Linked DNA regions of Homo sapiens: region 1 is linked to region 2. The links are contacts of gene promoters, found by promoter capture Hi-C in human tissues and cell types (Jung and others, 2019). All regions are on one chromosome and are shown on one strand. The core of a region is centred on a gene start or on the middle of the fragment in contact, and the rest is flanking DNA. Distances in the headings are between cores, read along the strand shown.

What was found. Contacts are between HindIII fragments. The study calls those that stand out against the background at their distance.
Region 1: a contact is called between a fragment that was not itself captured here and the fragment with the promoter of CXCL1 in region 2, in 1 of the 25 tissues and cell types used here (mesendoderm cells).

Annotation. Positions count from the first base shown.
Region 1 is chr4:74,293,765-74,296,820 of GRCh38, reverse strand. All of the region lies in intron 7 of MTHFD2L (methylenetetrahydrofolate dehydrogenase (NADP+ dependent) 2 like), which reads right to left. The region is part of intron 2 of LOC105377276 (a long non-coding RNA gene); the gene reads left to right. Among named protein-coding and RNA genes, the nearest start is that of EPGN, 13 kb to the left of the region's middle. The HindIII fragment of the contact is 3,752 bases long and covers 1-3,056 here.
Region 2 is chr4:73,867,176-73,870,642 of GRCh38, reverse strand. It overlaps CXCL1 (C-X-C motif chemokine ligand 1), which reads right to left and starts at 1,250. Exons shown (of 4, transcript NM_001511.4): 1 at 1,073-1,250; 2 at 851-974; 3 at 654-737; 4 at 1-122. The coding sequence starts at 1,172. The coding sequence ends at 107. The HindIII fragment of the contact is 6,457 bases long and covers 504-3,467 here.

The DNA.
Region 1 (3,056 bases), core at 534-3,033, 430 kb before region 2:
AGTGACTTTCAATTTGCATTCATAGAGCATAGTGGAATCTCTTGTGAGATTAAGTCATACTGCATATGCCTCCTCCTATCCCAATATTGCACATTGTCAATACGCACCACTGAGAACTAATGTTTGAAGTGAGAGATATTTCTAACGGTGGGAAAGGAATGTTATACATATAAACGGAATGGAGAAAATTTAAAATCTGGTTGGAATTCACTGCTGTAGTATGGCTACTTTACACGATGGCCTCAGGTTCCCAGGCAAGTACCAGGCAAACCCCAATGTGCAAACGGTTTTCACACTTCTGCTTACATAAGAGTTGCTAATGTGCCATTGACCAAAGGAAGGCACACGATCAAGTTGAAATTCAAAGACTTGGAGTAACAAGAGTGGCCAAGTCACCCTGCAAAGGGGATGTACACATGGGGACAAAATAAATGTGTGGCCATTTTTTATAATCTACTACAGTAGCCTCTTGGCTCCCAGTCCACCATGTCAGCCATATAATTTGCTGCCAGAGTTATTCTTTAAAACACAGATTTGATTATCTCAGCTTATAAACATTTGATGGATCTTCATTGTCTCTAGGATAAAATATAAATTCTTTGTTATGGCAATCAAGGTCTTTTATCTTCTGGCCCAACATCTTTATTTTGCATCATGTTCTAGCCCTATATTCAATTAGTCACTGTTCCCACACATGCCATAAACTGGACCAGATAGATTCGTAACAATTATTCCTTGAGCAAGACAGACATAGATACTGCCTCATGGAGCTTTTAGTCTAGTTGGGAAGATGGACATTAAAAAGGCAATTGCCTAAATAATAATTGAGCCACGGCAGTGATATGTGCTACACATGAAATTTGTGCTGCACTGTGAAGGTGTCAAGAGGATCTGGGCCTGAACAGCACTGTGTATTAATGTGGCATATCCATGCCGAGTTTTTCCATGTGGAATAGAGAGGTGTAGAATAGACAGTGTAGGGGAGACAATGTGATAAAGGTGGCAAGAAGCTTCCCTCAGGTAGAAAGCAGCCTGAACTCTTGGAAACACTGTAAGAAGGCCAGTATGGCTGAGATGCAGGAGTAAAGACAGAGTTGAAGGAGGTGACATGGAAGAGGTAGGCAGTGTCTGGTTATGTAGAGGCTCATAGAAAATATCAAGTATTTTGTATATTAATTTAAAAGAAATGATTAAAGTATTTTTAACATTTGGGAAAACATTTCAGGCAGCATAAAATCAAATGAAGAAACTGTTCTGTGTTTGCACATTTCTCTAATGAAGTGAGTTTAATATCTGGGGTGAAAGGAAAGGAAATAAACACAAAAATTACAAAGTAAATTGAGATTCACTAAGGTGGGAATGAATTCAGGCACTTATGGGAGTACCTCAAGAGAAAACATAAATCCGATATGGGGATCAGAGAAAGATTTGTAAAGCTGCAGAAAAGCTGCAAGATTGATGGACACCTGAGCAGGGAAGAAAGGGAAAGAGAAAGCAATGCAGACACAGGGAAGAGTAAAAGCAAAGGTGGGTTGGATCTGACAATAAATTTAATATAATGGAGGAGGTGAAATGACTTCATTATGACCAAAGCACATGATGAAAACAGCGAGAAGAAAGAGAGGAGGCCGGGGAGGTGATCATGGGCTATATGGGGTCAAGAAACTGAGGTTGGGTGATGGTAGCTGTAGTTACTGTGTTCAGGGTGAATAAGCTTTTAAAAGAGTCTTTCATGAATAAACTTGGCTATTTACATATTTAGGAGTGATCATTTTTGTAATATGAAAAACTTGTGAGAAAAATGTATACTACTAAATAATTTTAGAAGAAAGTAGTGAAGGAGAAATTCATCTTGCATTTTCATGAAGTTTCAGGCTATTGCATCCCAGTAAATCATTACTCAAGAAATTCTTTTTCAGCCTGCCATGCATGTCTAATCTTCCGTGTTCTCTCTTCTCCCCTATGTGGCTGATGACTTTCCCCCCTATGTTATTGGCTTCAGATTTCTAAAAGGAAGAACTAAAACTTGGCTTGGCATCATTTACTTGATTCTAACTTGAAGACAACCATCTTTCAATGTCAGTATAAGAACAATAGGTACAGTGCAGAGGTTCTTTCATATTTAAAATTTGAGGTGATGATAGAGATGATGGAAGAAACTAATCATCCAGTTTATATGGACGCCTCCAAAAAAATCCAAGGGTGGCATAGATGACAGGGTGCATAAATTGTACTCATGAAGGATACCAATAGCAACATAAAGGACACTAAAATGCCCTTTAAAAACTTAAGTAAGAATAAAACAGAAAGTACGTGGTCATGAATCTTCTGGCACCATCAATCCATCCTTCATGACAGGGTGTCTCCAGCTGGTGTGTTCTGTCATTGCTTCATTTGGAAACTTTATGTTCCCAGGTTCCCAGGGCCAAGAATTGAACAATTCAGATTCTTATTTAAGATACTTTGTTGGAATACTCTCTAATTCCTTGGCAAATAGTAAATTTCTACTTCAGTACATTATATATACTCCAAAGGTCCCAAATAATGGCATTTCCAGATGTATCTAAGCAGAATTAATTTTGCTAGTATATTTTGGAAATTGTATATTCTGGCAAAGTTAAAGAATATATTTGTTCTCTATAAATTTATTTTTGGAGTGGAGAAAGAAGAACTGATGTCTCACGTTCCTATAGTATTGTGTTGTCTTTCTATTTTGTCTGTTTCACTGTCTCTTTTAAAGAAGTACTCTATGGCCCATGTCAGTTCTCCACAATGCTATAATTATTTTTTAAAGTCAACTCCCTCCCCCAAAAAGAAGAAGGATGATTCCTTATCTGTGGCAAGGCAGCAGAACAAAAATTTCTTGCTTCTCTCATGTGAATTTCATCCTCCTGGTATACATATGTAATTGTCTAAATTAAATGCTTGAAGTATTTTCCCATGCTTCTAAATGCAAGCCACTTAAGCGTGGCCTCTCAAACATCCACTCTAATGAAGGGGAGACAAGCTTCAGGAAAATGAAGTACAGGAATAACAACCAGAAAAACCTGAATGAC
Region 2 (3,467 bases), core at 1-2,500:
CAATCCAGGTGGCCTCTGCAGCTGTGTCTCTCTTTCCTCTTCTGTTCCTATAAGGGCAGGGCCTCCTTCAGGAACAGCCACCAGTGAGCTTCCTCCTCCCTTCTGGTCAGTTGGATTTGTCACTGCAATGAGAAAATGGGTGCCCTGAGTAGGTGCTCGGGAAAGCTGATTGCACAACACTCTTCTCCTGCCCTGCTCCTCCAGCCTCTAGAGTTTTCCGAATGCAGTTTCCCCAGCCTGGCAACCAAGTGGCTACTGCCTATGACAGCTGTGCTGTGTGGCAGGGACCTCTAAGCTTGGGATGCTCTTTTAGGAATGGGGGTGGGGTGGGGCGGTGGTCTCCACTGTACTATTGGATTAAAAACAGCCAGAACCTGTTGCTGTTTGTCCTACTGGGCCTCAAATGAAGGCAGTTTTACCTACATTCATTGGAACGAAGGAAGAACCAGGGTGGGGACGCCAGGCATTGGGAATATCCTCTGGCACCAGAGCAGTAATTATCGTAAAGGAAACCTTAATTGTGAAAACAATAATCCCAATTTCTAGTCCTTCAACTAACCCCTGGGTTTTCCTGATTTTATTTTTAGGGGGCACATGCCAGTATTTCTGACCAACGGCTCCAGTCGCCTGTGTACATGGAAACCATAACTCACCTGTTCAGCATCTTTTCGATGATTTTCTTAACTATGGGGGATGCAGGATTGAGGCAAGCTTTCCGCCCATTCTTGAGTGTGGCTCTGCAGAGGGAAGGGAATCTCGTGAGGCAGGAGGTCGGGCTGGGGACAGGGTTGGGGCAGCAGGAGGGTCTGGGACCCCGGCGGTGGCAGAGGCAGCGCGGGGCGGGACTTACATGACTTCGGTTTGGGCGCAGTGGGGTCCGGGGGACTTCACGTTCACACTTTGGATGTTCTTGGGGTGAATTCCCTGCAGGGTCTGCAAGCACTGGCAGCGCAGTTCAGTGGCCACGGACGCTCCTAGGGAAGAAGAGACTCACTGACTGAGCGAGGCTGTCGGCGCTGGGTGCCTACCCCAGCCGCGTCCGGCCCGGGGACCCCAGGGCGCCGGTACCCACCTGCTGCGCGCCGGCCAGCGGCTACCAGGAGCAGGAGCAGCAGTGCCACTCGCAGGAGCCGGGGATTGCTGGGGGCGGCGGAGAGAGCAGCGCGGGCCATGGGGCTCAGCAGGCGGGTCTGGCGGCTGTGAGAGGAGCGGAAGAGCTGGCGAGGAGGTGCCTGCGGCCCGGGCTCTGTGGCTCTCCGAGATCCGCGAACCCCTTTTATGCATGGTTGGGGCTGGAAAGCCCGGAGCCCCCGGGCCAGGGAAATTCCCGGAGTTCCAGATCGATCCCGAGTCCGGAAGGAAGGCGACGGCCCCGCCCCCAGGGTGGAGCGCTTGGGGTGCGGGTGGGGTGTGGGGGTCCACTGATGCAGCCCGCGCCTCGCCCTTCAGAGTAACTCCTGTGGACTCTGAGACTCTGGGATATTCGCCTTCTGCCCCAGATCCCTGGAGGGGGGCTGAGTGGCAGCCTGCGCTGAAGATACCACCTGAGAGGTGGGATCTTGGGTGCCTGGTGATCCCAGTGTGTGGGGCTGGGAACGGAGAAGGAGCTGGGGCGGATCCCTGAGAACCACCACAGAGAAGGCGCGACCTCTTTGGAGGAAGAGCGTTGTGTCTCGGATTTGTGGCTGGAGATTGAGAGAAATTAACAAGGTGCTGGGAGATAGGCTGGAGCTATATTATCCTCTCTGCCTCAGCCTTTCTTATTTTCAGTTTAGCCTATTTCACGTACATCTAACATCAGTGCTGTCTGTGAAAGTACAGTCCATTATGTCAGATTCCAGAGAAGAATGTTCTGCTTGTTCCTTGTGTTGCATATTCTCTAACCACACTTAGAATATCTTGTTTACGTTTTCCATTTGGTGGCAACAGATTATCAGTGTCAAAAGCTGAATCCAGTGTTAGCGTCAGTGGAAGCCAGGGCTGTATAACATGAACTCTTCTTTCATATCCTGCTTATCTTCCTTCTTCCCTGTAAAATGTTGGAACTTTCAAAATCCCCTGGAAATCTTTTCCCTGTAGGAGGGGTTCAGGTTTGATCTAGAAATACGGCACTGGTTGTCACTCCGGACCTCGGAGGGGCTGGGTCCAGCAGGCTCATGGGCTCACCATTCCTGGTTCTGTCTTTGGACTGCATAGCACATGACACCAGGGAGTGGGTACCTGGTGTGCAAGCACCCTTCCCACTGAAGCAGCAGACATGCATTCGGATGAAATAGGAACGCCGGATCCCACATAGAGTCACATTCCATTTACTATAGGACTTCCTGGTATTCAGTATTGGGCCCCCTTTCTAGAGAAACACACACATGTTGTTTTCTCTCAGGAATTTCAGTCATTTAACCTGGTAGCTTTATTACTTTTTTCTCCAGAAGTTCTAGAGAACTTATTTTTATTCATCATTAGGTTTTTAGAGGGTTTAAGTGTGATTCTCCAAGTGGGATTCAGAGCTCTCTGAGACATGGAGTAAGATGGGAGGAGGGGGAAAAAGCAGAGGCTTCTGCCCCAGGGGCAGATGTCTCCACAACAGAGTTCTACACAGCCCAGCTCAATAGGTAAGACCTGTGTTCCTAGCCAAGCAGAGAACACAGGCAAGGCTGCCACCTGCATTTAGTAGTGAAGCATCGCCTGCAGATTGTTTAGCCTCTCCGTTTCTACCCCAAGGTGGTTATGAGAAATGAGTCAACATTTGTAAGAGCCAGCATGGATTTAAGTGCCTTATAAATGTTTGTTAAATATTTGTTTAAAAAAAAAATGGAAATAGCGTTTTCCAACATTGCCTAAACAGAAACTCATCCTGATGTGAATTTATATATATATTTATATATTTATATATATATATATATATATATATATATATATATATATAATGGAAAGGTTCACTCCCCAGTGTTTTTTACATTTAAAATTTTCTATATCAGTTACTGCTACCCAACTACCCCTAATGTATACAACACCATATACAGCAGTATGAGTCTTGAATAAATCAAGGCAGGTCCTGGAAGACAGAATGTTCATATAAACACCAAAAGCTCAGTTTCCAAAATGCCCTTTCGGTTACTCAGGGGTACTGGTGCTCTCATTACAGTAATCTTAGTCAAGGGTAGAAAGGTGTGCTAGAATGTTGTTTCTTTAAAACAGACACTGTAGATAGTATATGTACTCCAGTCTTTTTCAATTATTTCTCTTTTCACATCTTCCTGATTACTTATATTTCTTAACAGGAAGAATAAATGAAAAAGCATTGACCCAATGGAGACCAAATACAGTGTCCCAAATATCTTCATCAGTTTCAAGCTGTAATCAATGCTGCAAACTTCTAAATCTAAATTTTTTAAAAAAGAAACTCAGCTGAGAATTTACAAAAATTGAAATAAAATTTTCTGTATCAGGCTTTCAGAAAGGAAGAC